6 separate regions of the Homo sapiens genome follow, and regions 1, 2, 3, 4 and 5 are each linked to region 6. The links are contacts of gene promoters, found by promoter capture Hi-C in human tissues and cell types (Jung and others, 2019). All regions are on one chromosome and are shown on one strand. The core of a region is centred on a gene start or on the middle of the fragment in contact, and the rest is flanking DNA. Distances in the headings are between cores, read along the strand shown.

Region 1 (4,141 bases), core at 1,460-3,959, 240 kb after region 6:
AAGGGGGCTTTGTAATACCTGAGATTTAACCCTTCTTATTCCTTCCAAATACACCACAGATTTTGGATATATATAATGATAAACTTTCAAATGAATAAAATCTTTTTTGGGGGAATGAGCATTGAAAATATATTTGTTAAATGAATGCCATCTGATGGAATAATAATGTAGATCCAATTAGAGTTACACAATTCTTTCTCACATAAAAACAGAAGCTCATAATTTCTATTATCCTATGTTATCGATGAGAAAATTGAAAAACAGAAAGACACACTTCAAGTTCACAGATCTAAGACTCATTCATACTCATCTTCTGATTCCTGATTTAGTATACTTTTAATCAAACTTGGAAATCTCAACTAAATTCTATGTTATTTTTCTGTTTAGCAGTCTACATTATGGATGTCTCACTTAAACATTGGCTTAAATTTGTCTTAATTTATTAACTCAGGGCAAAGCTATAGGTTATTCCCTTTTCTGGTCAGGAAACAATTATTGGAATAGCTAGAAAGTCTCCACTTACTTCTTGGCTAGCTAAATTGCCCTATTACTCCTAAGTTAATCTGAATACTTTTAGGAGCCATGTTCTTCTGGGTTTAAGGATTTTTGAAAGGGTGAAGAGTGTTTTAGAGAATTTATCTCTTAAAGGAAAACTGAAACAGAGAAATGACCTTTAAGTGAGAGTTTTCATGAAAAGACAAACAAAAATTTAGGAAATTGTGATAGACTACATTTGCTTTTTAATACCCACCATATGTCTGATTTTATTCAGGGACTAGAGGAGTGGGTTAGTGCTTATTTTCACAGATTGTATAAATAACAGGCCTGCTATTGCTTCTTTCTTCTAGGTGATAACATTTTGGGTTGTACTGAAGTGCTAGGAAAAAAAACTTAAAACCATCACTAATTATTAATAGAGACAGTCCACTTTTAGGTCTTTGGTTTTTCTGTAATGCCGTGGACTGTGAGCTTTTACATTGGGGGTTGTTTTACCAACCAGAGATAAAGGCGATTGCCCTCAGGCATTTCAATATTAATATTTCATTTCTTGTTGTTTATTTTTCTCTCTGATTTTTTCAGGTTTTGCTTAATGATCTATACATCTAAAAGTAAGTTTTAAAATAAGGGTCCAGTAACATCTTTTTTTAATATATATTTTTACTTTTGTATCTATTCCTTTTTAGGACACCAAACACCAACTTTCCTACTTTCCTTTTCCTGTGTGTCAGTGGTAGGAGGGTAAGTAGATCTTGCTTACTCCCATGCCCACAGGAAAGGAAGCACTAACATTTGCAGAGTGCTCTCTGGGTCCAGGCACTGTGCTAACCTGTTACATATGTGGTGGTATAATATTTCAAAGTGCTAATTGTCCGGTAGAACTGCCAATTCTCCCAGCTTGGCGGCTAAATGGAAAAGCAACATGGCCGTGGGGACGATTTACGGTGGGGAACAAAGTTCTTTAGCTTTTAAGTTCAAAGGGCACCATCTGGGTATGACACAGGGAAATTTCTGAAAAGGAATGCAGTCAGGGAGAACAGGTTTTTCTTCCTAGTTTGAGACTAAAGAGATAAAGGAGCCTGGAGTTTGCAACCAAGCTATCCCCAAAGTCATTCAGTTCTAAAAACACTGGAATTGATGTTACTTTCTGCTTCCCTTCCTTGAAATATGTCTGTGGCTTCTTCATTTCAGAGGCCACCAAGAATCAGCAGTTTCTCAAAGGATAGCAGATTGAGGTTACTTCTTTGGGATTTGTAACAAAAACGGAACAATCGAGCACAATGGACTGTTACAGAAGGATTCATTAAACATTTTAGTGGACAAGTTTGCAGATACTGCTCTTTGGTAGTAGACATAAATCTCCCTATTCTTCCTCATTTCTAAGTTAATAACAAACAGGTCTTGCCTCAGCCTTACCCTTCTTGCTGCTGCTTCTGTTGGGTTTCAGAGGGCTTGCAGACTTCTGCAATGACTTCATCTGTAAGTATTTTCTAGCCTTTGTGGCAAATCTTTGTAAGTTCCCCATTTTCTTTAAGCCCATCCCTGGGGCCTCCTCATTGGCCACTGGCTTTCTGTCTCTCACTTGCGTTTCTCTTCTCTGTATCTTTGTCCTAACGTATCCAGTATCTGAAGCACACTAACACTACTCTGAGTTATCTTTTTTTCCCCACGAGTTTTTGTCAATATGCAGAATGAAAAGAGCTATTCATTTCCTTTAGAAAATTGTCATTTTGTAATAAAAAGTTTGACTTCTGGTAGTGAAAAATTTAGCATACCAATAGGAGGAATCATCTCCATTTCCTCCTTCTCCAGAAAATAAATAAGCCACACCCCTTTCTAGTTACTTCCTCAGTTTCTAATTGTAAAGCATCCCCGAAGCAACCATGCTCAGAACAGCAGTGACTAGCAGCTGCTGGAATTACAGAAGGGAGACAAAAGCTTTCAACCCTCTACTGCACGTGGTATGTTGGCTACTTCAGCAGTGTGGCCACTGTGAGAGAGCTGGGCTAGATGTTTGGGTTTTAGGTTCGTGCATAGCTCCTTGTACAGATGTCACTTCAGACAAAATCATTTGTCTTAATTCTTCATCTGCAAGACAGATTTCTACTACCACTGAGTTAGGATAAAATGCGATGAAATATATACAAACATTCAAGATAAACATGCTTTTATAATGCAGAGTAGTGGTGGTGTTCTTTGGAGATAAGGTGATAAAAAATTCACTGTCTTTTGTTAAAGACGAATAGACTCAAAATATATGTACTGTTTAGATAGGATTTTTTTTAAGATTAGATTTCAATGCAAATCTGTTTTGAAGATTAGTACAATCTGAACTGTTTTGGACATCTTTGTTTTGTAAATTATTTAAATGAAACAATTTTTGTAAAGCTGAGCAAATTATGCCACTTATAAGTCAGATTTTTTTCTTTTATTTTAACATAACAGCGAGGCAAATTAAAAGTCGTTGTGCAGAGTGAATACAAAGAACAATGACTGAGATTCTTGCTACTTAATAAGAATTGTTTAGTTCCAGACTTTAGAAAAAGTTATCACTTTTTATATTTGCTGGTGGCAATCAAATGCAAGGAAAAAACAGTTTTGAAGAAAAAAACCAAATAAATATTTCAAAGGCTATGCAGATCTATTTTCATTTTCACAGATGGAAATACTGCAAAGTTGATTATAGTATATTTATTTTATTCAGAACAATCTCAGTTGGATCTTTCCTTCTGTACAAAAAAATGTAATTTAGATGAAAAAGTGTGCTTTCATGTCACATTGATGTCCTATGTGGCCGGCATTTCAAAATTGATAGATGATATACATAATCTTTTCTACTTTGTTAAAAACAATACTCAAATTTTAAGTTTGTTTCTCTTCAATTGCTGTGATATGGCAGGGAAAGAGTAGAAGATTTGGTCAGGAATTAAGGCTGAAAGATTGATGTAGTCCAGATAGTTGCAACATGAGAAAGCAAGAGGGAAATAGGTGACTGCAAAAATACCATCTTGCATTGCTGAAGGAAGATGATGGAAAGTGGAAGAAAACCTAATTTGCCTCAGAAATGCAAAGCCATCTCAGGACTCCATTAACTACATTCCTGGGATGAGATTCAGAAGTATCACATCTCTCATTTCACCATCCCCTTCCAACATTTGCTCAACTCTGATGGAATTTTAAAGCTACATGCATCATCAGGTCAATATTTCAACCTGGAATTTTACATCTGGTTAAAGACACAGCACTCCCTTCCTTTCACTTTGTACCATGCACTTGGTGTCTTTTTGTAAGCATTTCTGTCTCCTGCACAGGACTAAGAATAACTTTGAGGTAAGGGAAATCTCCCTCTCTCTATTGCTAAGTGTATCTCTAGCAGGACTTACCACAGTACTATGCTTTTAATTAAATTTAAGAAATAAAATATATCCAGTTTACATAGTGTTTGTTTACTGATCAAAAACTACAATACATCTTTACAACAAATAGAATAATACTTATCCTAGGACCAATTAGGCAGAAGCCTACATAGACAACTGAAAAAATGTGAAAATTTCAGAAAAATAAATACTACTATTAAAAGAAAAATTTTGCCTGAGAAATGCAAGAAGAAAGTATTTGCATATGGCAGAAATAGACAGGTTTC
Region 2 (4,584 bases), core at 1,097-3,596, 190 kb before region 6:
CCTCCCAGATGAGAATCAATTAGTGCAAGAACTCTGGCAATTTAAAAAGCAAGTATCCCTTTACCTCCAAAGAAGTCCACTAGCTCTCCAGCAATGGTTCTTAACCAGTCTGAAATGACTGAAATGACAGATATACAATTCAGAATCTGAATGGCAAGGAAGCTCATAAAGATTCAGGAGAAAGTTGAAACCCAATCAAAGGAATCCACAGAATCCAGTAAAACAATCCAAGAGCTGTAAGACGAAATAGGCATTTTAAGAAGGAACAAAACTGAACTTCTAGAGCTAAAAAATTAATTACAAGCATTTCATAATACAATCAAAAGTATTAACAGCAAATAGACTAAGCTGAGGAAGGAATCTCAGAGCTTGAAAAATGAGTTATTTGAATCAACACTCAGACAAAAATACAGAAAAAAGGAATTTTAAAAAATGAACAAAACTTCCAAGACACATGGGATTATAAAAAGAGACCAAATCTATGACATATTTGTATTTCTGAGAAAGGAGACAGAATAAGCAACTTGGAAAATATCTTTGAGGATACAGTTTGTGAAAATTCCCCTAATTGCATGAGAGAGGTTGACATGAAAACTCAAAAAATACCAAGAACCCCGGCTAGAAACTACACAAGATGACCACTCCCAAGGCACATAGTCATCAGATTCACGAAGGTCAACACAAAAGAAAAAGTCCTAACGGTAGCTGGAAAGAAAGGTCAAGTCAGATATAGATGGAACCCCATCAGGCCAGCAGCAGACCTCTCAGCAGAATTGGAAGAGATAATTTATGAAAGCAAGAAGGTCCCTGAGGAGGTGAGTAGCACTTATAACCCAATTTCTGGTGGAAGATTTGTTCTCAAGGAGGAAGGAGCTATTTTTCTACTTAGATGCAATAGAAGAATAGAAGGTTGACCGAAAGAACATGTGTCTTTAACAAACACTTATGAGGTGCCTATCACTGTCTTAGGAGCTTTACAAATGCCTGTCACTGTCTTAGGAGCTTTACAAACATCAACAATACAATGCTCCTTACAACCTTGTGAGGTAATATTATTATTCCCATACTACAGATGAGAAAACAAAGGCACAGTCACGTAACTAGGAAGGAACAGAGACAATTTGATCCCAAGCAGTCTGGCTACAGAGTTCACAATTATAGCCCTTAGTTCTATGTCTCACTTTAAGGAGAGGTTCAATCATATAAATTAATTTGTCCATTTATTTAAATAGTTTATAAGACAATAAAGGATGGCATACCAGTGATTAATACAAGGACTTGGAGGGAGAAGAAAAAGAGGGAATGAGTAAAAAGGGAAAGAAGTAGTAAGTTCTAAGAGGACAAAATGAAACATGTAAAATTAAGCCCCTGGGAAAAGCAGTGGTGACTCAATGTGTGGAAATTCATACATTCAATGTTCTTGAGCAAACAAGATTATTTTTGTAGTAAATTTGCTTAATTTTTATTTTACTTCAGAGGACTATTAAATTTACTAATATATTACCAAGGGTAAGATAATTTATTTCTGGGTAAAGGGATCTCAAAGAAACACATTAAATTCTTATAGCTGGAACATAAACAAACATATACAGGCATGGCATTAGTTTATTAAGAGAAAATATAGGAAAACATATTATGCCATATATGTTCATGTTTTCCAGTTGGATTGCTAAATTATTAACAAATAGGTGAAGAAAATCGAATGTTATTGAGGGGAATAATTTGAAGATCTTATGAGTCATTAAATATTTATGAAATAAGCCGTAATAATCAAAAATGGCAAGCTTAATCAAATATTCCTTTTAAATATATTAGAAATATTACTTGGTATTTTATATTTATTTGATAGGGTAATTTGATAATCCATGTTATCAAATAAAGAATTTTTCCTCTCAATAAAAATAAAAATAAAGAACTTTTTCTTATTTTCTAAGTATGCCTATAACGCAAATAAATAGCAGTTTGAGATATGAAAGGTCATATATATATTTATAAAACAAAATATTGAAATTAATAAGATATATAAATTCTAGAAATTCAAAAGCATTTACATAATACTTTTTAAAGAAAGTTTTAAATTTTAATGTAGTACACCTGAATTATCAAACTCCAAGGTTACACACTATAGGACTGAAGAGTATTTAATATAATTTCTCCATAGAAGATACCCATAGTTAAAAATTTAGCAAGGAAGAGATATAGAAATTCATAGAAGATATAGTTTGAATCCCTACATCTTTGAGTCTAATCACGCATTATTTATACACATATTCAAATTAAATAAGGATCTAATAGAATATTTCTAGCCACATGGCCACCCAGACACTCAGATCCTCATAAGGCAACTCACAAACTTGAGTAAATCTAAGATGATGAAGTTGACTTTTTGAGTGAAGGACTGAAAATTGTACCCTTTGTCAATCAGTACTAACCAGTAACTTTTTGCTCATTGGGGGAATGATAAAGGAATTCTTAGTTCTGTGTTTATAGATCTCTCCTTCCTATCCCTTCTCACCACCTGAAGTAGTGAGAGTCATTTAGAGATCATTGCAATGGTCCAGAGAGAGAGGGTGATGGTCAGGTCTAGAGAGGAAACAGAGAAGCTGTCTTGGACAGGCTCACTTTGAGATGCTTACTGAACACAGTAGCCTGTTTCCTCCTGAGTTTGTAGTTGCAGATAGATGATCTAGAAACAGGTGGTGGGGAGAGAGAGAGAGAAAGTCAGAAAAAAAGTACGGAAGAAAAGGAAGTGGGGAAAGGCAAAGGAGGAAACCCAAGAAATATACAATACTTAAAATTAAAGAAGAGGAATGAGAGTCAAAGGTAGTTTTTTAAAAGGCAGGAGGATTAGAAAAGTGTTATCATAAAAAAACAGTTTGAAAGAGAAAGTCAGTGAGGAGCTATCAAGGGTAGGAAGAGACGGTCAAAGACATCAAATACTGCACAAAAATTAGGCAGTTGGAAACTAAAGCTTTATTGGTGATCTTTGGCAAAGTCATTTCAATAAAGTGGATGTAGAAGTCAGATTGGTGAGTTGAAGAGATAATGGGAGAAAATTTTCCACCCCTAATTTTTTGTAATAAGTTTGGATTATTCAGTGACTATATTAACTAAAGGGAAAGTTGGTAAAATCCATACAGTATGCAGAAATTATTTTAAGTTTGGTAAAAAGGGAAGAAGACAATGACACAGCAGCTCCAATGGCTGCCAGGTCAAATTTTTAGCCTACAAACAATTTTATAGGCTGGAAAGAAAGTGCCAGAGCCAAAAGAATGAAAGAAACTGAAAATGCAATGACACAAGGGATAAACAACACAAGAAGGTTATAAAGGTAAAGAAGAAAGAGAGATCAAGAGCACAAGTCTAGCACTGACTTTGCAAAGGAAAAGAGGTCCCTCTTGTTTAGAGATGAATGGCAGGAAGAAAGGATAGGTGAAGATGTATGAAATCAATTTAAATTTGAGGGTATAATTTTTAAGTTAGAAAGTTCTCACCTATTTTATTTTCTGTGTGATATGAGGAGAATACATCACCTGTAGAGGGGGAAAAATTGTTTAGGATTATCTCCTCTAATCCTCCAACTCTCTCATAAAAGTGGCACTATCATTCCCTCTACTCAGCAATGCAAAATGAGGCTCAGAGAAATTAAGGAACTCTCCCAAAGCCACTTAGTCAATATTTGGCAGTGTGACAGCAGAAACTTGTTCTTAATTGGTATGCTCTTTGGAACAATCTGAAATTCCTACATGTAGCCAGGTAGCATATGACTGCAAAGTGGGAAGTAAATTCTAAAGGTCATAGGGTACAAATTTGAGGCCTAAGAATATTTACCATAGCTGTATGTATAGATTTCTAATGTTTTATGAGCATTAGCCAGTCTCTGAAAATGCAAATCACCTGTAGATGAAAAGACGCCTCTCCAACTCCCAGCCAAAAGAAGAGTACACCAGTGCTGTTAGTTTCCACTGCTCAATTTAGCCTTTCAAATACACTCAATTTGTATAAGGTAGCATAGATGATTTGCAGTGGTTTCAATGTGAAGCTAACATTAAAGGTGATTTGAAGCTGTTCATCATTTCTTACTGCAAGGTTCCACATTATGAGTACTGAGTCAGAAATCTCATTACTTTAATAGCATAGAGCAAGCATAATATACAATGCAGGAGACATTTGATAAACAATGATCTCTCAAAAGTGTTAGACTTCATTCACACAAGCTTAAGTCTTCAACCATAAAACTCTCTTTCATGAGGGTGTCTTGAGTACATTCTGTTCTTTGATATGTGGGAGAATAAGAAAAGGCAGTTCCTGCTTTCAGGAATTTATGATCTCATTAGAAGAAGAGAATTCGTAAAACAGCTAAAGAGTAAAACATAATAAAATGATATTTCAAAACATAAATGTAATATGATTAAGACAAGAACCATCAGTGTGTACTACAGAAACCTGTAAAATGTTTCATAAAAGAGAAAGATAAGGAAGAAGTCCCTCTAAAATATTTGCTGAATGAATGTCAAAATGTAGGAAGTAAGAGGTAGGGAGGCAAGGAAGGCTGATTTGAAGGTTAAATGAAAAAACAGTTCC
Region 3 (4,204 bases), core at 339-2,838, 140 kb after region 6:
GGGGTGAAAAAGATATACCAGACAAACATAAGACAAAAACAAGCAGGAGTAGCTATACTTATATCACATTGAACAGACCTTAAATCAATGAAAGTTAAAAAGATAAGATTATTATATAATGTTAAAGGGTTCAATTCAACATGAAGATATAACCATTATAAATTTATATGTACCCAACAGCAGTCCACCCAGCTTCATGAAACAAATCCTCCTAGACCTAAGTAAAGAGACAGAGAGCAGTTCAATAATACTGAAGTCTTCAAAACACCACTGAGAGCACTAGGCAGATCACTAAGGCAGAAAATCCACAAAGAAACTCTGGACTTAAACTGGTTGCCAGACCAAAAGGACCTAATAGACATTTACAGAATATTCCACAAAACAATTGTAGAGTAAACATTTTTCTCATCTGGGCATGGAACATTCTTGAAAATAAACCATATGCTTGGCCATAAAGAAAATCTCAATAAGTTTTTTAAAAACCTGAAATCACGTTGCATATCTTTTCAGACTACAGTGGAATAAAATTAGAAATCAATACCACCAGAAACTCTGAAAGCTATAGAAACACTTGGAGACCAAACAACTTGCTCCTGAATGATCTTCAGGTAAATGATGAAATTAAAGCAGAAATCAAAAAAATTTTTGAAACGAATAAAAATAGAGACACAACATAGCAAAACCTCTAAGATATAGCAAAAACAGTGCTAAGAGGAAAGTTTATAGCAAAATATCTACATAAAAAAGATAGAAAAAAATTAAGTTAACAACCTAATGTCATACTTCAAGGAGCTAGACAAAGAAGAAAAGAAATAAAAAAGATCGGAGCAGGACTGAGATTGAGACAAAAAAATACAAAGGATCAATGAAATAAAAAGTTGTTTCTTTGAAAAGATAAAGAAAATCAATAGACTGCTAGCTCTACTAACCAAGAAAAAAGAGAGAAGATTCAAATAATATTCAACATCGTACTGGAAATCCTAACCAGAGCAACCAGGCAAGGGAAAGAAATAAAACAAAAACAAAAACAAAAACCAAACAAAAAACATCCAAATTGGAAAAGAGGAAGTCAAATTATCTCTGTTCACTGATGACATGATCTTATACCTGGAAAACACTAAACACCCCTCCAAATGACTCCTAGACTTGATAAATGACTTCAGTCAAGTTTCAGGTTACAAACTTAATGTACAAAAATCAGTAGCATTTCTACACATCAATAACGTTCAATCTCAGAAGCAAATCAAGAACTCAGTCTCATTTATAGTAACCACAAAAAATTAAATAAAATACTTTGGAGTACAGCTAACCAAAGAGGTAAAAGATCTCTACAAGGAGAATTACAGAACACCAATAAAAGAAATAGTAGATAACACAAATGGAAAAACATCTCATGCTCATGGATTGAAAGAATCAATGTCATTAAAATGGTCACATATTCTAAAGCAATGTAAGACTCAGTGCAATTCCTATCTAATTACCAATATCACTTGCCACAGAATTAGAAAAAATAATCCTAAAATTCGTATGGAACCAAAAAAGAGCCCAGATAGTCCAAACAATCCTAAGCAAAAATAACAAAGGTGGAGGCATCACATTACCTGATTTCAAATTATGCTACAAGACTATTGTAACCAAAACAGCATAGCACTGACACAAAAGTAGACATATAGATAAGTGGAACAAAATAGAGAACCTACAATAAAATGATCTTTGATAAAGCCAAAAAAAAAAAAAAAAAACACAATGGGGAAAGGACACCCGGTGAAAATTGGCATATGCGGAAGAAAAAAAACTGGATCCATATTTCTCACCATATACAAAAATTAACTCAAGATGGATTAAAGCCTTAAATGTAAGACATGAAAATACAAAAACCCTGAAAGAAATCCTAAGAAAAACTCTTAAGACATTGGACTAAGCAAAAAATTTAAGACTAAGACCTCAAAAGCAAATGCAACAAAACCAAAAATAGATAAGTGGGAGTGAACTAAACTAAAAGGCTTCTGCAGAGCAAAAGAGATAATCAACAGAGTAAACAGACAACCTACAGAATGGGAGAAAATATTTTCAAACTGTGCATTGAACAAAGGACTTATATCCAAGGTTGACAAGAAACTCAAACAACTCAACAAGAAAAAACGCGATCCCATGAAAAAGTGGGCAAATGACATGAACAGATAAGCACATAACTAGATGCTCAACATCATTATTCGTTAGGAAAATACAACATAAATATACAATGTACTATTTCTGCAAACCCATTACAATACCTAAAATTAAAAGGAATGACCTTATCAAGTGTTGGTAAAAAGATGGAGAAACTGTAAACCTTACACATTGCTTATGGGATGTAAAATGGTGAAACCACTTTGGAAAACCATTTTGGCAATTTCTTAAACAGTTATAGATATACCTGTATATAACCAAGCCATTTAAATTCTAGATATTTCTGTAAGAAAAATGCAAGCCTCAATGACTTGTGCATTAGTGTTCATAGTAGTCTTATTTGTAACAGTGAAAGCCAGGAAACAACTCCAATGTCCATCAACCAGTGAATGTATAAACAACTGTGGTTTACACAATAAAATACTACTCAGCACTAAAAAGGAATACATGCCTCAATGCAGATAAATCTCATATAATTATGCTGTCCAGCAAATACTGGATAAATACAAAAGGTATCTCAAAGAAGCAAATGATCAATTTTGAAAAGTGTGATAATAGAAACCAGGAGTTGTTGGGGGAGCAAATCAGATGATGTTACTTTGCTGTCTCTGCGAATGGTATCAGTCTTTATTCATTTGCTGAAGTAAAATACGTGGACATCCTCTTAGACTTATTTTATCCCTTGCTCTTTCACCCAATTAGTTATAGTTGCTTTTCTCTCCTATATTAGATATTTTCGAAATGTATCTTATTTCTGTCTTGTTTTCTCTGATTCATCATCCACTACTTTGGTCAGCTCTTAATTATTTCCTACCTACAAGTACTTTGTAACCATTCTCTCTACTTCCAGTCTTCTTTTACAATCAATCTTCATGCAACGAAGGGAAGCAGTTACCTGAGGGCAGGGTACCAAGCACCTACCACAAGTAGAAAAGAGAAAGTTCTAGCTATAGGAGGCCAGGTGACAAGAGCTGTAGGCTTTGATAGAGACCATGGTTCAGCACAGCCATTGCTGAACCATTGCCTGGAGGGAAATGGGGAACAAACACTGACTTCACCTTCCTCTCACTCTTCAGTCTCCTGCCATTGTCCTTCATTGGACAAACCAAAACTGGAAGCCAGGGAGACCAGTTGATGGAGTCCACAAAGGTCAGCCTTCCCGGGCACAAAGCAGGGTGGAAAAGACATAGAGTGGATTTGGAGAGGCAAACAGAGGCTGTATCAGTTCATCCTTCTAAAACATAACCCTGATGGTATCATTCCCCTTATGAAAATAGCCTTGTGCATGTTTCGGAGCAGGAGCAGATCTTTGACCCTTCCTTCAAACTTGAAGGGTAATACCTTGTTGTTATCATTAATATTTATTTGTAAGAAAAATTATGTGCTGAACTAAATTAATGATAACTATAATTTATTAAGTGACTACTATGTGACAGGCACACTCTTAAGTATTTTATGTATATTGTCTCATTTAATCCTCTCAATATCTCGGTGAAAGAGTTGTTACTTTCATTATTTTACTGTTAAGGAAGCTTGTCTGGCTTTACCATGATGTGGGATTACATGTGCATAGTCAGTAATCTCACATGAATTCAGTAATACTTGTAAGGAGGAAGATGTGATAAAGCAAAATGACAAATTAAATAATACAGGTGATTTCACTCGCCTTTCCACTGTCAACACTGAGTGAAAAACTAGAGTTTATTTATTTTTTAAACATACACTAACTAGCTTATCTGGTACTCAATGGAAGAAACAAAGCAGGAAAAAAATTGGAAATTATGATTTATTAAGAGATAGTGAGTTGTTTTCCAATGTGGCTTAATTTGCATACCTTATTTTCATCTTATTCACTGACTTTGAAACCTAACCCTTTGAAAAGCTGGCTCCACTGTTAAGAATTAGAGCCTAGATTAAAACCCAGGCTGATTAGCAAAGTCTGTCTGATGATCAACCCTGTGCTCCTCAGCACTGCTGTATACAGCCTGGATAAATAAAAGGATAAAAGCTGTCAACTTTTTTTTTGTTTCTCCTT
Region 4 (4,552 bases), core at 1,361-3,860, 140 kb before region 6:
AGAATAAAGAAAATTTATTTCAGACTCCACCATTTACGAAAAAAACAGTAAAAGCCTGGAATCTTATTAAAGTCAGAAATAAGAATGATCACTGCTTTTTTATTATTAATTAATATGGAAGTTCTCAGTGTATTAACATATTACTCTTTATGATTAATCTAGAAGTTATATGTGTATTAACAAAAACATAATTTAAGAACTGCAGTTTTTGAAAAAAATATATAATTATCATCTCTTCCATGACCAGTACATGAATTTAACAAACTACCTGTGAGATTTGTTCTTTTTTTTTCCTTTGTAACTTGACTACATAATTCTAATATTTATACTGAAGAATAAACAGGTGAAAATACCTCTTTAAGAGATGGGAAAGAAATGTAACAAGTGGAATATTTTCCTGCTAGATATTAAAACATAAATTAAACAATGTGGTATTGGCACTTACTTGACAAAATTGGGAATACTATAGATTGCCCTCACATGAAACCTAGTATATCTAAGAATGCAGTTTATAATAAAGGAGGCACTGCAAGTCCGTGCAGAAGAGAGGAATTATTCAAGAATAGTAGACAGAAAATAACTAGGGGAAAGTATTGACCAAAGAAATTAACCAAATTTTAATTTTCTTACCATCTAAACAGTAAATTAACTGCACACAGTAGAAAAGAAATGGACAAATTACATAGAGACTTTAAGAACAAAAAATATGTAGCAAAAATATTAAAATATTTAAATGTAGTCACTTAAAAACTCAATTTCTATAATAGTAGATAAAATTTTAATCATGTGAATGAGCATTAGAATGTTATTCAAATTGCTTATGACTTAACACTGATTTAATTGTAGGCATTTAAACACAAAAATTAGGTAATTTTAACATTTTTTGAGATATAATTCATATAAAATGGAATTCACCATTTTAAAATACATAATAATGTGAACCTTCACTCATCGTTCACCAAAAATGCAGTTACTGTACATTCTGACTCAATTAGACTTTTAATCAACAATGTATAATGTTGTGGCCACTGTTTTTTTTTTCTGTATGTCTTTATCCTTATCATGGACTCTGGAGGATGTAAAGTAAGTACATGTAATCAGCTGTCATCTGGGCCACATATTTCTTTCCTGTACTTAGGATCATGATCACAGGGAATCTAGTTCCAAAAATGGAACAGCCAAACAAAAACAGCAGTTAACTAAACAAATGACAAGAAGAAATTTTCCAAATGTACATGACTTTTGCTCAACCTTCCAAGTCCATCTATTTACACTGCATTTCTTAGATATGTAACTGCTTTATTGAAGTATAATTCACATGCCATACAATTCACCCATTTCAATTGTGCAATCCAAAGGCTTTTAATGTCTGCAGTGTTGTAACCATCACCACAATCAACTTCAGATCATTCTCATCACCCCCAAAAAACACCCTGTATCGGTTAGCAGTCACTCTTCATTTCTCTCCAGCCCCACTGGGCCTATTCAAAAATTAAGGTATTTTCCCACTAAAAATGTGCCTCTTGTATAAAATTTACATAAATAGAATCATACAGTATGTGGCCTGTAAAGGAAAGATATTTATAGAATTCTAAGGCCTGGCCAGAGTGATCTTGAGGCAGGTCTTACAAGGCAGAGAAGTGTTGTGAGTGGGCAGAGTTTATTTGGATTGGTGAATCTAGCAGGAAGAGGACCCTGAAGAGAGTCTGGAAGGGCCAGCTGTTAGTTTTGATAAGTAAACTAGCTGTTTCACAGTCTTTCTTCCAGGAGCAAGTATTTCCTGGAATATGCACTTAAGTTGCTTTTGCTTAGTCCTAGTACTGTTGAACAAGGGACAAAGAATAATCTTGGTTTCTGTTATACAGCCTGATGTAATTATTTCCCAGCAAGACATACATTTTAAAATTTTTGTTGCTTTATTAGTGCCTCTATGTTAAACATTAACTTGGAGCATGTAATACATGAAAGGAATGTCTTATTTCCGATTTTAAAGCAAACACGTCCCCATTATGCTGATGGCATTATACAAAAGTTCACCAACTTGTCAGGTTTTTTTTTTCCTATTATGTTTTTATTTTTATTTTTAAATTTGTATTTCCATGATGTTGTATCTAAACATATATATTGTTGCTATTTGACACATACTGAACAATTAGATATGCATTATGGATTGTATCTTTTATTATTATAAAGTATACATCCTCATTTCTCAGGGGCTTTGCTTTTTTCTTTTTGTCACTGCCCTATATTTATCCTCTAGGCCCACCTTCTTCACTCTCAGCTGACACATTAGCTCAGCTGACCCCACATGTGGCTCTAGGGTAGGAAGGTGACCCAAAAACAGCCAGTGAGAGTTTCAGTAGATGCTTCATAGAGCAGACAGGAGATTTTAATTGATGGGAAATAAGATCTTTTTGTTGTTAATGTTGCTAACCTGGCAGATTTTAGGCCTACAGCTACTGAGGTACTTTGCTCCCACTTGGAGGCAGCCTGCCTGGGAAAGAAACCCACAGAGACTAAAGTTTCATTGAGAGGTAGAAAAGATTCCTGATAACATATGACGAACTAGATCAAGTCAGACCTTCAGTTTCTGCACTTGTGATCATGTGATCCAATAATTTCCCCACTCACTTTTTAAAGGGATTTAAGTGAATGTGAGTTTCTATCACTGCCCCCCACACACAAATCCACCTATTACAAGAACTAATTGTTTTAACGCTTTTAAAAAAAAGCTTTTCAACATGTTATGTCAAAGCATAATTTTCAAAAAGATGAAGCATAGGTCCCTAAAACTAATATGTAATGAGCAGTTGTGAAAATTCTGTTTAGTTATGTAATTAGGAAACAAGCAACACAATAAACCTTCTTGAAATAAAAAATGCAAGAGACTAGCATTATACACAGTGACAGAAAGAAAGCTGGAATACTATCTTAATGTTAGTATTTTTAATGATTAATATCTTTCAGGGATACTTGGGTTTGTTGTTTCCAACCAGACAAAAATAAATTACAACTCTACAGGACAAAAATTATTTGCAATGGGGCTGGGCACGGTGGCTCACACCTGTAATCCCAGCACTTTGGGAGGCTGAGGGGGGGGCGGGGTGGACCATGAGGTCAGGAGATCGAGACCATCCTGGCTAACATGGTGAAACCCGGTCTCTACTAAAAATACAAAAAATCAGCCCAGCGTCGTGGCGGGCACCTGTAGTCCCAGCTACTCAGGAGGCTGAGGCAAGAGAAGGGCGTGAATCCGGGAGGCGGAGCTTGCAATGAGCCAAGATCATGCCGCTGCACTCCAGCCTGGGGGACAGAGCAAGACGCCATCTCAAAAAAAAAAAAAAAAAAATTATTTGCAATGAATCAATGTTCTGGAGATTAACATCTATTTGGTATGGCTTTTAGCAATAGTAAAATAAAAAATCATCTAAAAAATATTACATGTACCTGGAGAGGCTCAGGTAGTTTGCCCCATTATATCATAAAAATAGTACGCAGTTTTACGATATTTTGATGTTTTCAATACTTTTTCTTAAGTTATTCCTTTATTCAAAAAGGTTACAACTACATGTTTTGCAATATGGATGGAATGTTGTTAGAACTCCTCCCTATGCAATTGGGATAAAAGTCTCCTATCCCTGGATCAAAACCTGGAAGTCATACTTAGACTTCCAAATATCCAAAAATGTACAGCTCCTTGCTCAACTGTGATATCCAGCATCAAGCATCCACTGCTGGTTAGATAGAATGAAGTGGGCTCTTTTTCAAATTAGAATATCCAAAAGTCATACCTCTAATCTATGGACAAATGCAGCTCATACTTTAATGAAGAATTTATTAGATTTCACCTGTTTTGTAGCATGTACCCCAGTATTTCATTTCTGTTTATAACTGAATATTTCATTGTATGCATAAACCACATTTTATTTGTCAGTTCATCAGCTGATGACCATTTGAGTTGTTTCCACCTTGGGGCTATTGTAAATAATGCTATTATGAACATCTGTGTAGAAGTTTGTGTGTAAATATACGTTTTCAATTCTCCTGTGTATGTATCTACGAGTTGAACTGATAGATCAAGCTTGCATTCCTGCAATAAATTCCACTTGGTAATGTTGTATATTTTCATGTCCTGTAAATTCAGTTTTCTAGAATTTTGTTGAAGATTTTTGCATCTATATTTACTAAGAGATATCGGTCAGTAGTTTTCATTTCTTTTAATGGGTTTGTCTGGTTTGTGTATCAGGGTAATATTGGCCTCACCAAATGTTTTGGAAGTGTTCCATCATCCTTTCATTTTGGGAAGAATTTGTGTAACATAGTAGGAATTCATGTTTAATGTTTGGAAGCATTCATCATGAAAGCCATCTAGTTGAACACTTTTCTTTATGGGACTTTTTTTGCTTACCAATACAATCTCTTTACTTGTTCTAGGTCTATTCGGATTTTACACTTCACTAAATTTTGGTAGCTTGCATCTTTGTAGGAGTTGTTTGTTTCACCCACTTATGTAATCTGTTGATTTCTAATTTTTCATTCCCTTATAATGCTT
Region 5 (4,464 bases), core at 464-2,963, 240 kb before region 6:
GCTGGGACTACAGGCGCCCGCCACCACGCCTGGCTAATTTTTTTGTATTTTTAGTAAAGACTGCGTTTCACCGTGTTAGCCAGGATGGTCTCGATCTCCTGACCTCGTGATCTGTCCACCTCGGCCTCCCAAAGTGCTGGGATTACAGGCGTGAGCCACTGCACCCGGCCGCAGTGTTTGGTTTTCTGTTCCTGTGTTAGTTTGCTGAGGATAATGGCTTCCAGCTCTATCCATGTCCCTGCAAAGGACATGATCTAATTCCACTTTATGGCTGCATAGTATTCCTTGGTGTATATGCACCACATTTTCTGTATCCAGTCTATCATTAATGGGTATTTGGGTTTATTTCATGTCTTTGCTATTGTGAATAGTGCTGCAATGAACATACGTGTGTGCATGTATCTTTTTTTTTTTTTTCCTGAGGAGTCTCGCTCTGTCACCCAGGCTGGAGTGCAGTGGTGCGATCTTGGCTCACTGCAACCTCCACCTCCCAGGTTCAAGCGATTCTCCTGCCTCAGACTCCTGAGTAGCTGGGATTATAGGTCCTATCTTTATAATAGAATCATTTATATTCCTTTAGGTATAAACCTAGTAATGGGATTGCTGGGTCAAATGGCATTTCTGGTTCCAGATCTTTGAGGAATCACCACACCATCTTCCACAATGGTTGAACAAATGTACACTCCTACCAACAGTGTGAAAGTATTCCTATTTCTCTGCAACCTCACCAGCATCTGTTGTTTCTTGACTTTTTAATAATTGCCAGTCTGACTGGCGTGAGATGGTATCTCAATGTGATTTTGATTTGCATTTATCTAATGATCATGAACGTTGAGCTTTTATCATGTTTCTTGGCCACATGAATGTCTTCTTTTGAGAAGTATCTGTCATGTCTTTTGCCCACTTTTTAATGGGTAATTTTTCTTGTAAATTTGTTTAAGTTCATTGTAGATTCTAGATACTAGACCTTTATCAGATAGATAGAGAGCAAAAATTTTCTCCCACTCTGTAGGTTTCCTGTTCACTCCAATGATAGTTTCTTTTGCTATGCGGAATCTCTCTGTATTTTAAACATAAAGTTAATTCTATATAAATACTTAGAAAAAAATTAACCATTCATTTGACTTGCTTTAAAGAACAGAAAGCTAGCTTTTATGGGTATTATTTATATTTCTTCCCAAAAGACAATGAAAAAAAAAAGAGTATGAGAACCAAAATATAGCAACACAGGGACAACTTGACATAGTGAATAAAACCCAAGCCTTGGAATCTGAAGGACTTAGGTTTAATTCCTTGCCTTGTATTTTACTTTATATTTAATCTCTCTTAAACTCGTTTCCCTTCTTTGTAAAATGAAGACAATAAAGCCTACTTTTCAGGGTTGTATCAAGATTGAAATCAAATAATGCTTGTGAAGAACTTAGAAAACACCTGAATACTATATGTCCTCCATGAATAGGAACACAATGAAGAAAATAAATGCATAATATGTTGCTAGAGAGCCTGGCCACCATCCCTTTCGGCCCAGGACTGTGACTGCGTCAGAATGACTCTATTTTACCTACTGCAGGACTTCTTGGGTAACAATGAAAGATTAAGTGCAATTGAAGTTAGAAAAAAATCCGTGAAGGATGCCAATTGACTCAATTAGAGTAAGTTCTTAGACTCCAGGGAAGATATTTAGAGCAACAAGGAAGTATCACTTCTTTGACGTCAATTACGATAAATGCATGAGCAAGCTATATCTGGTTACCATGGGGGTAGTCACATATCAAATCATACCAAATTTCTTTAGAAATAACAAAGTGAACTAAGAAATTCAGTTTATGAATCATCAGAAAGTTTGTTTCTGTAACATAAATTAATCTTCATGGGCCCTCTACTCTGAAAGTATTTGCCTATAGTAAGAATGTCCCAGACTTCATAATCAAAGCTTCACACTGCTATTTTTTTCTCACATTTGAGGTGGAACTGGAAAAACATCTTGCCCAACTCAATACACTTATATCTGTTTACCTATAATAATTATTTCTTTAGACAAACTTTAAAATATTCCACACACCTGTGCTGGGGAAGAATCAAGACAGAGGGACAGAAGAAAAGATAACTCACATTTTTTCTAAATTTAACATATTACCCACTAAAATAAAATAAGGTAAAGTTTATGGCAGTTTTTCATATACTCGCTCATGCAAAGCATGTAGAAAATGCTATTCATACTTTGTTCACATTTATCTTTACTTTCTTTAAGCATCATTGCCTTTTTGTATTTTTCAAGTAAGAAAAGAGTTCAAATTCAGTTAATTTACTTATTTTGTTTTGCTGAATCTCAGCTTAACATACAGATTAATTCATCCCAAAAGCTAATAAATAATTTTTTAGAAAATAGGACATTGAGGTATAATACGTTAGCTAACGGGCTTTTTCTCATTTGGGGTATATTATTTCCTTTAAAAATGTGTCCTTGTTTAAAAAATTTTTTGAATCCAATCCTCAACTTAGAGTTCTACATTAAAGCAATAACTAATATATTTGGAAATGTCTATTGTAAGCTGGACATGGTGGCTCACACCTGTAATCCCAGCACTTTGGGAGGCTGAGGCGGGCAGATCACTTGAGGTCAGGAGTTCGAGACCAGCCTGGCCAATATGGTAAAACCCCTTCTCTATTAAAAATATGAAAATTAGCCGAGTATGGTGGCACATGCCTGTAGTTCCAGCTACTTGGGACGCTGGGGTAGGAGAATTGCTTGAACTGGGGAGGCAGAGTTTGCAGTGAGGTGAGGTCACACCGTTGCACTCCAGCCTGGGCATCATGGTGAAACTCCGTCTCAAAAAAAGAAAAAAAAAAGAAAAAGAAAGAAATGTCTATTGTAAATCAAAGAAAAGTAGTAAAAGGCATTGGCAATAGATCAATAAGGAAAAATACAAAGATTTAGAAATGAGAAAACACAAGAAAGTCTTCATAATTTATACGTATATGTGACTAGACTTGAGGTTTGATATACGAAATACCAGGAGCCAGAAGGTACACCACTGTCCACCTGGTTTCTAGGTGAGCAGCCCCTTTCTGTGCTTGTTTTCTCTCAGCTTCGCTTTTTACTCCTATGTCAAAGGCAAAACAGAGATTGCTTCTGGGCCTTGCTGTTTTCCTACATTTGCCTTTGTCATGAGCTCTTCCTTTTTCTCTCTGCCTGTTGATTCAATTATAGAGCTATCCTCTATTCAGGCATAAGACAATTCCTTTCTATCAAGTATAAACAAATCAGGCAGTCACATTTATAGAGGGAACACAGGAGAAGCAATGGCTGACAGCCCGCTTCACAGAGGAGTTCTTGAAGAATGAGTAGAGTCTTCATCTCAGTCCAGTGCTGTGCTCACTCTCATGGTCTTGGAAAACAAAATCCAATTTAGGCATCAAAGTTAAACTTCATTTTTGTAGGTCAAGATTGCTTCCCACCGAAGGTCCCCTTGAATTCTCTTTTATGGCCAATACTGTTTTGTACCACTCCTTTCTCTCTTCGCCTTAGCAGTGGGACTTTTGGATAGGTGGATTCAATATTCCTCTTATCTGTATCAGGGTTTCCCAGCTCTTTTTAAGCCGTTTCTCCTGTTCGTCCCTATTTTCAGTCCTGTAATAGCTTTTCTTGAACTCAACTATCACTTCTTGTTCTTTCCAGAAATATGAATTCATTTGGTACCTACTTCCTTTCATCCTACATGACTATATCCCTTGTCCACAGACAGTAAGCACAATAAAATAAAAGATCCACTGTTGCCTGGGAATGTCTTTTTCTGGAAAACATTTAACATTTTTAAGGTCACCCATTCACAATTAAAATGTAAATCTCTAGGCTCTCGCATGAATTTATCCCTCACTCTTTTAGGGGAAGAGATATTTGAACCTGACCACAGAAAATAATGTAAGTACACTTCATGAGAAATACAACTTTATAACTCCTAAATCCAATTTTAACAAACTTTTCTCAGCCTCTTATATTCTCCTTCATTCCCAGGTCCCAGAAATAGGTAAGAAGGTTTCCTATGAAAACCTTGTAACTGTCCTTCAACCTGCCTGTACAGACCTCAACCTTTCTACAATATATTTAAGATGGAATTTTCTAACTTATAGTAAAAGGTCAAACTTCTTGAATAATTCAGCACATTAATTTTAATTAAGAAATGAGTCATTGACATAAGGCACATTCATTAATTGAAAGAAGAAATCTTGATTGTTTTTGTTTTGTTCGTTTGTTTGTTTTAGAGACAAGATCTCCCTCTGCCACTGGAGTATAGGGGTACTGGATCATAGCTCACTACAGCCTCAAATGCCTGGACTCGAGCAATGCTCCTATCTCAGCCTACAGAGTTGTCAGGTCTACAGGCACGCACCACCATGCCTAATTTTTTTTTTAATTATTTTTTGCAGGGACAGTGTCTCACTTTGTTGTCCAGGATGGTCTCC
Region 6 (4,593 bases), core at 913-3,412:
TGTGTTGCATTCAGCAGATACCAGAAATACTGAGATACCAGAGTGGAGTGAAATCAGGGCCTTACTGGGGAGAAGGGGCTGGCCATCAACATTCGGTGAACATAGCAGGCAAAGTTACCATATTTGGGGACTAAAAATCTAATAATTCAGGTAAAGATCTCACATCATAACACCCTCACCACCCACACGCACAAACTCACTTTAGTTTTATCAGCAGCCAATAAAGTGAGATTTATTTCCTAATGAAAAGAATGCACTAAGAAAAATACAGATCTATAAGGCGATATTTTATTTGGGGATAGAAGAATCGCCCTAAACTGAGAATGTCAACTTTGTTTCAAGTAATACAGAAAAAGCACCTAGTACCAAACAGGTATACAAAGAAATAGCTGGGTTTAAGACTGGTCATGTAAACTCAAATGGAGTCAGTGTTCCCGAATGCCTAGATTTTCTTTCTGGGATGACTTAAAATTGAGCAAAGCAATCAAGAAAAGCGGCTACAGCTCACACTTCCTCATTGCTACAAGCAAGTCCCCCAACCCTGGAAACTCGGGACTTTAGACTTAAGCGTCCTCCACAAGTTCTTTGTTCAACCAGTAACCTCACAGATTCGTCTGTGTTGGCTTCATAGTCACAGCTAAAGGGGTGCATGGCTCTAGTGAGATCTTACTTAGCTCTAGACACCTGCTATTGCGTTTGACAGCTATGACCTATTCTTCCAGACAGAACCTACACTGGAACTCCCACCAGCAGAAGGAAATTGGTGCGGTGGAAACGGGGAGCAGGGTTCGAAAGCACAGGCAAAAGGCGCTCACAGGAAGCAAGATCCACGCTGGCCACACAAACTGTATCTTTCCCTTTGGAACGCTGGTACATCTCATCCATGTCAAGTGACTCCCCAGTACGTTCGGTTTGATCGCCTGTTGCCCTAACACTTTTCAGGCTAAAAACTACCTTGGTGCTGGGAGACACACTGGGTGGTTGGGTTTCCTCCAAGCAGGGCTTGATACGAGGGCACAGAAGGGCAGCTAAGGGTCACGTCTCTGGGTGCACAGGGTCCAAGTCCTAATTACAGAGGAGACCGGCTGCCCTTGTCTGTGCCCCATTCTCCAGCAAAGGGGTATATCGCAGGTTTGTGATTTTTAGTACCAAACTTGGGGCGATCAATTCAATTCCCTCCACCTTATGAGAAAGCAGTAAACCGAAATCCCCGGTGGGGCACTGGGGAAATTCCTACTCGGAAGAGAAACGGAGTTAGACTGCGTGTCCCCCACGCCCTGATGTCTGCTTTCCTGGTTCCTTCCAACTCATCCTCCAAGACGAAGGGAGCCGGGCGGGAAGCAGATGCCCAGAACGGGGATTCGTCGCAGGCTTGGTTAGGGGTCCCCAGAGCTGCGCTGCGCTGCACTCAGGCTACCCGCACCAAGCATCCCCGGAAGCCTCCCCGGGATTCACCCTGCGCGGCTGCAGGGCCCGAAAGGTCATCTTCCCACGAGTGCCACCAAGGGAGCCTGGGGGAGCGAAGGCCGGGCTCGGACGCCGCCAGTCCAGAGACCCCCTCATTGCCCCTTACCTGCCCGCGGCGAATCCGGCAGCCCCCTGACAGCTCCCAGCAGCCGCCACTGGAAAAGTTTCCGAACTTCTTCGCAGGTCTGCACGCCCTCGCTGCGGGCGGACCCAACCAGGGCCAGAAGGAGGAGGCAGCGAAAGCCCACGGGCCAGGTCTGTGCGTCCATCCTCGCCGTCCTGGTCCCCTTTACCCGCCAGTGGACCCCACTCGCCCTGCGCGCCCTGGCTGAGCTGCAGACGTGGAAGACACAGCGGCCGAGGCTCTCGAGCGGTGCGAGCCGGCTGCGGGGTGTACGGACCGCCCGCGGGCACCGGCTTCACCTGGGAGCAGTTAGCTCTTCCCGGAGGAGGCCCTAAGCTGAGACACCAGAGTTTTCCAGCTGAGCACCCTCTGGTCTTCTTCCCTAGCCGAGAAGAGTGGGCGGCTGGGCGGGGCGAAGAAAACTAGTGGAGCCGCAGGGAGCCCGCAAGCATCCGCTCTGGCCACCACTGCTGCAACTGCTGCCGCTGCCGCCACTGCCGCCACTGCCGCCACTGCCGCCGCCGCCGCCGCCTCCGCCGCCCGGCTCGGCTCGCAGCAGCTAACCTGGGATGTGCCCGCTCGCTGCGCTCCGCGGAAGCCCCGCCCCGCACTCCCCGCCCCGCGGACAGGCCACGCCCCTGCCACGCCCCCGGCGCGCTGTCCCGCTCCGCACCCACTAAGATGCTGTCATACGCGGCCCAGTGCTGAAGACTCGGAGCGACATCGATGCAAATAAATAGAAGGAAACCCGGACCTCGCTCTCCCAGTCCGTTCTGGGGAAGAATCATCTGATAAAAACAGAGAATGTATAAATAGGGTCAGAGAAGACAAGAGATGAGAAACACCAACTGGAACTAAGAAATATCTCATCTATGTAATCAAGGTCCTCAGTACATAGGAATTTGTATTCTAATTGCATTAAATAGGATCTGGACATAATACAAAAGGCAAAAACTATTTACGGTTAAAGATCTCAATTGAGAGACTTCATAACACTTAGGTTGTTAAAGAGTGCACATGAGAAGTTATTTTTTAAAATGGCTTTGTTTTACTGCTTAGGAACATTTTTCTATAACATGATTTTCTGAAAGGAGGTATAAGAATTACAATCAAACTTTATCACATTCTTATCACAATGAAATCTAGTTTTAAGTCTCTTATCACCATTTAGCATCATATTTTACTTCAGCACTTTGTATTTGTGGGGCTCCTCTGAGCTTTACCACTTCTGGAATTTCTTTAAAATATTTTTCAGAGAGCAATTAAGTTAAGAGTGCTCAGGGGAGTTCCTTACAAGGAATATAGAAAAATAAATACTTTAAGCAATTTTAAAATGGCAAAGGAATTTTGTCAATTTACAGTTTATGAGAGGAATGCATTACGCACCATAAACCAAAGGGCAGGTGCATTTTTTAAATGTGGTTGACTCAACAACTAAGCCTGTAAGAGTGTCTCAATCTACAGCCACTTGAAGAGAGTACTCCTTCTGTAAAATAAACTAGTTAAAAGCATCAGGCAGAGGGGACAATGAATGCTTTAACCACTTTAAGGAATTTCATCTCAAATTTGAACCCTTACCAAGAGATAGTAGTGAAAAACTTTATGTCTTAGTGAAGATTTTTAATGAACATTTAATATCAAAGGCAGCACTTTCAGCAGTATATCACTTGCTTTAAAACCATTCCAGGGCAATGGCTGAAACACTGCTTCAGAGTGAAATCATGCTACTTGGTGTTTGGCATCAGTTTTCTGAATATGAGATTTTGTTTCAAAGGGCAGTGCTCTTCATGAATCTCTTCTGCTCTAACCACCAAGTATGGAAAGATTGTCTGGAAGCCACCTATATCTATGAAAAGAAACAAGAAAAACCATGAGAATGTATATAGTGCTTATGGGCCAGATAATATTCTAAGTATTTTATGGAAATGAATTCACTCATGTAATCTTTATAACAACCTTATAAAGTAGTTACTACTATTATCATTGTTTTACAGATGAGGAAACAGGAACACAGAGGTGAAGTGACTTACTGAATGCCTAAGGTAAGTGACAAAGCCAGAAATCAAACTGAGGCTTCCAAATCCAGACCGCATGCTCTTCTCCAGAGGCTCTCCTTGACTATTCTGTGGTACAGAAAAACCCATCAGGTTTCACCAAAGGCCTTTGGGCAGCAACACCAAGGGCTGTTTATTCATTTAGCAGATTTTTTACTAGTAAATATGCATAATTTCTATCTATATAACTGTATTCTACTGGAATTATGTGTATCTCTATATAAGGCTAATAAATTCCCAAGTTTTTCTAAAACATCTTTATTGTTACCAAGATCTCTCCTTGATAGATTTGATCATCTTAGACTCTTAGCATCAAAAAGATCCTTAAATTACCATCTATCCCATTAACTGGAATCTCTAAAACGGTGTGTCTTGCAAGGATAAAAATCATAAACACAACTGAGTATTGATGGTTCAGTAAAAGCTAATTGACTAATACATATTGGTTGAAAACATACAATTTTTTTAACCGCTATTCTAGGCTTAACAGGAGTTTAAAGAGACACACAAGCAAGTTTTCTCAGTGATTTTATAAGTTAACAAAACAGGTGGGAGGTCATTTATAGAAATGCCATAGGAACTAACAAGAATATATTTAGTCTGTATAAAATATCCCCATTAACAAAAAATAAATATATTTTCCTTCTACCTCTTATCCATAACTGCTAGCAAAGTGGATGAGCCAGCATGTGGCCTGGAAGGGCATCTTGTCCTATTAGCATCCCTAAGCCCACCACGCAAGGCAACAGTATGCCTGCTACTGAAGCTACCAAGCTTCAAGACAAGTTTTCTAGTTCCACCCAGAACACAATGCCACGATCCCTTTTATAAGAACATTCTAGAGCAACCTCTGCAAATTATACCATAACTAGCCTTTTATTCAATTTACTGGTAAACATTACAAATGAAGCTAGGGAAAACTGTCCATAATTTGATAGTTATAATGCC

Evidence for each region. The method cuts DNA at HindIII sites, captures the fragments that hold promoters and counts their contacts. A contact is called where the count stands out against the background at its distance.
Region 1: a fragment that was not itself captured here is called in contact with the fragment with the promoter of GPC5 in region 6 in 1 of the 25 tissues and cell types used here (lymphoblastoid cells).
Region 2: a fragment that was not itself captured here is called in contact with the fragment with the promoter of GPC5 in region 6 in 4 of the 25 tissues and cell types used here (H1 embryonic stem cells, dorsolateral prefrontal cortex, heart right ventricle and 1 more).
Region 3: a contact is called between a fragment that was not itself captured here and the fragment with the promoter of GPC5 in region 6, in 2 of the 25 tissues and cell types used here (H1 embryonic stem cells and lymphoblastoid cells).
Region 4: a fragment that was not itself captured here is called in contact with the fragment with the promoter of GPC5 in region 6 in 2 of the 25 tissues and cell types used here (dorsolateral prefrontal cortex and mesendoderm cells).
Region 5: a contact is called between a fragment that was not itself captured here and the fragment with the promoter of GPC5 in region 6, in 2 of the 25 tissues and cell types used here (heart left ventricle and hippocampus).

Annotation. Positions count from the first base shown.
Region 1 is chr13:91,153,015-91,157,155 of GRCh38, reverse strand. The region is part of intron 2 of LINC00379 (long intergenic non-protein coding RNA 379); the gene reads left to right. Among named protein-coding and RNA genes, the nearest start is that of LINC00379, 57 kb to the left of the region's middle. The HindIII fragment of the contact is 6,821 bases long and covers 1-4,141 here.
Region 2 is chr13:91,587,478-91,592,061 of GRCh38, reverse strand. All of the region lies in intron 2 of GPC5 (glypican 5), which reads right to left. Among named protein-coding and RNA genes, the nearest start is that of GPC5, 190 kb to the right of the region's middle. The HindIII fragment of the contact is 5,361 bases long and covers 1-4,584 here.
Region 3 is chr13:91,260,266-91,264,469 of GRCh38, reverse strand. All of the region lies in intron 2 of LOC105370314 (a long non-coding RNA gene), which reads right to left. Among named protein-coding and RNA genes, the nearest start is that of LINC00379, 51 kb to the right of the region's middle. The HindIII fragment of the contact is 5,291 bases long and covers 1-4,204 here.
Region 4 is chr13:91,537,379-91,541,930 of GRCh38, reverse strand. All of the region lies in intron 2 of GPC5 (glypican 5), which reads right to left. Among named protein-coding and RNA genes, the nearest start is that of GPC5, 140 kb to the right of the region's middle. The HindIII fragment of the contact is 5,406 bases long and covers 1-4,552 here.
Region 5 is chr13:91,636,752-91,641,215 of GRCh38, reverse strand. The region is part of intron 2 of GPC5 (glypican 5); the gene reads right to left. Among named protein-coding and RNA genes, the nearest start is that of GPC5, 240 kb to the right of the region's middle. The HindIII fragment of the contact is 5,661 bases long and covers 1-4,464 here.
Region 6 is chr13:91,396,190-91,400,782 of GRCh38, reverse strand. GPC5 (glypican 5) reads right to left here and starts at 2,162. Exons shown (of 8, transcript NM_004466.6): 1 at 1,574-2,162. The coding sequence starts at 1,736. LOC124903189 (a long non-coding RNA gene) reads right to left here and starts at 3,906. Exons shown (of 2, transcript XR_007063831.1): 1 at 3,622-3,906; 2 at 3,195-3,437. RefSeq lists silencers at 2,078-2,347, 2,054-2,348. The HindIII fragment of the contact is 16,121 bases long and covers 1-4,593 here.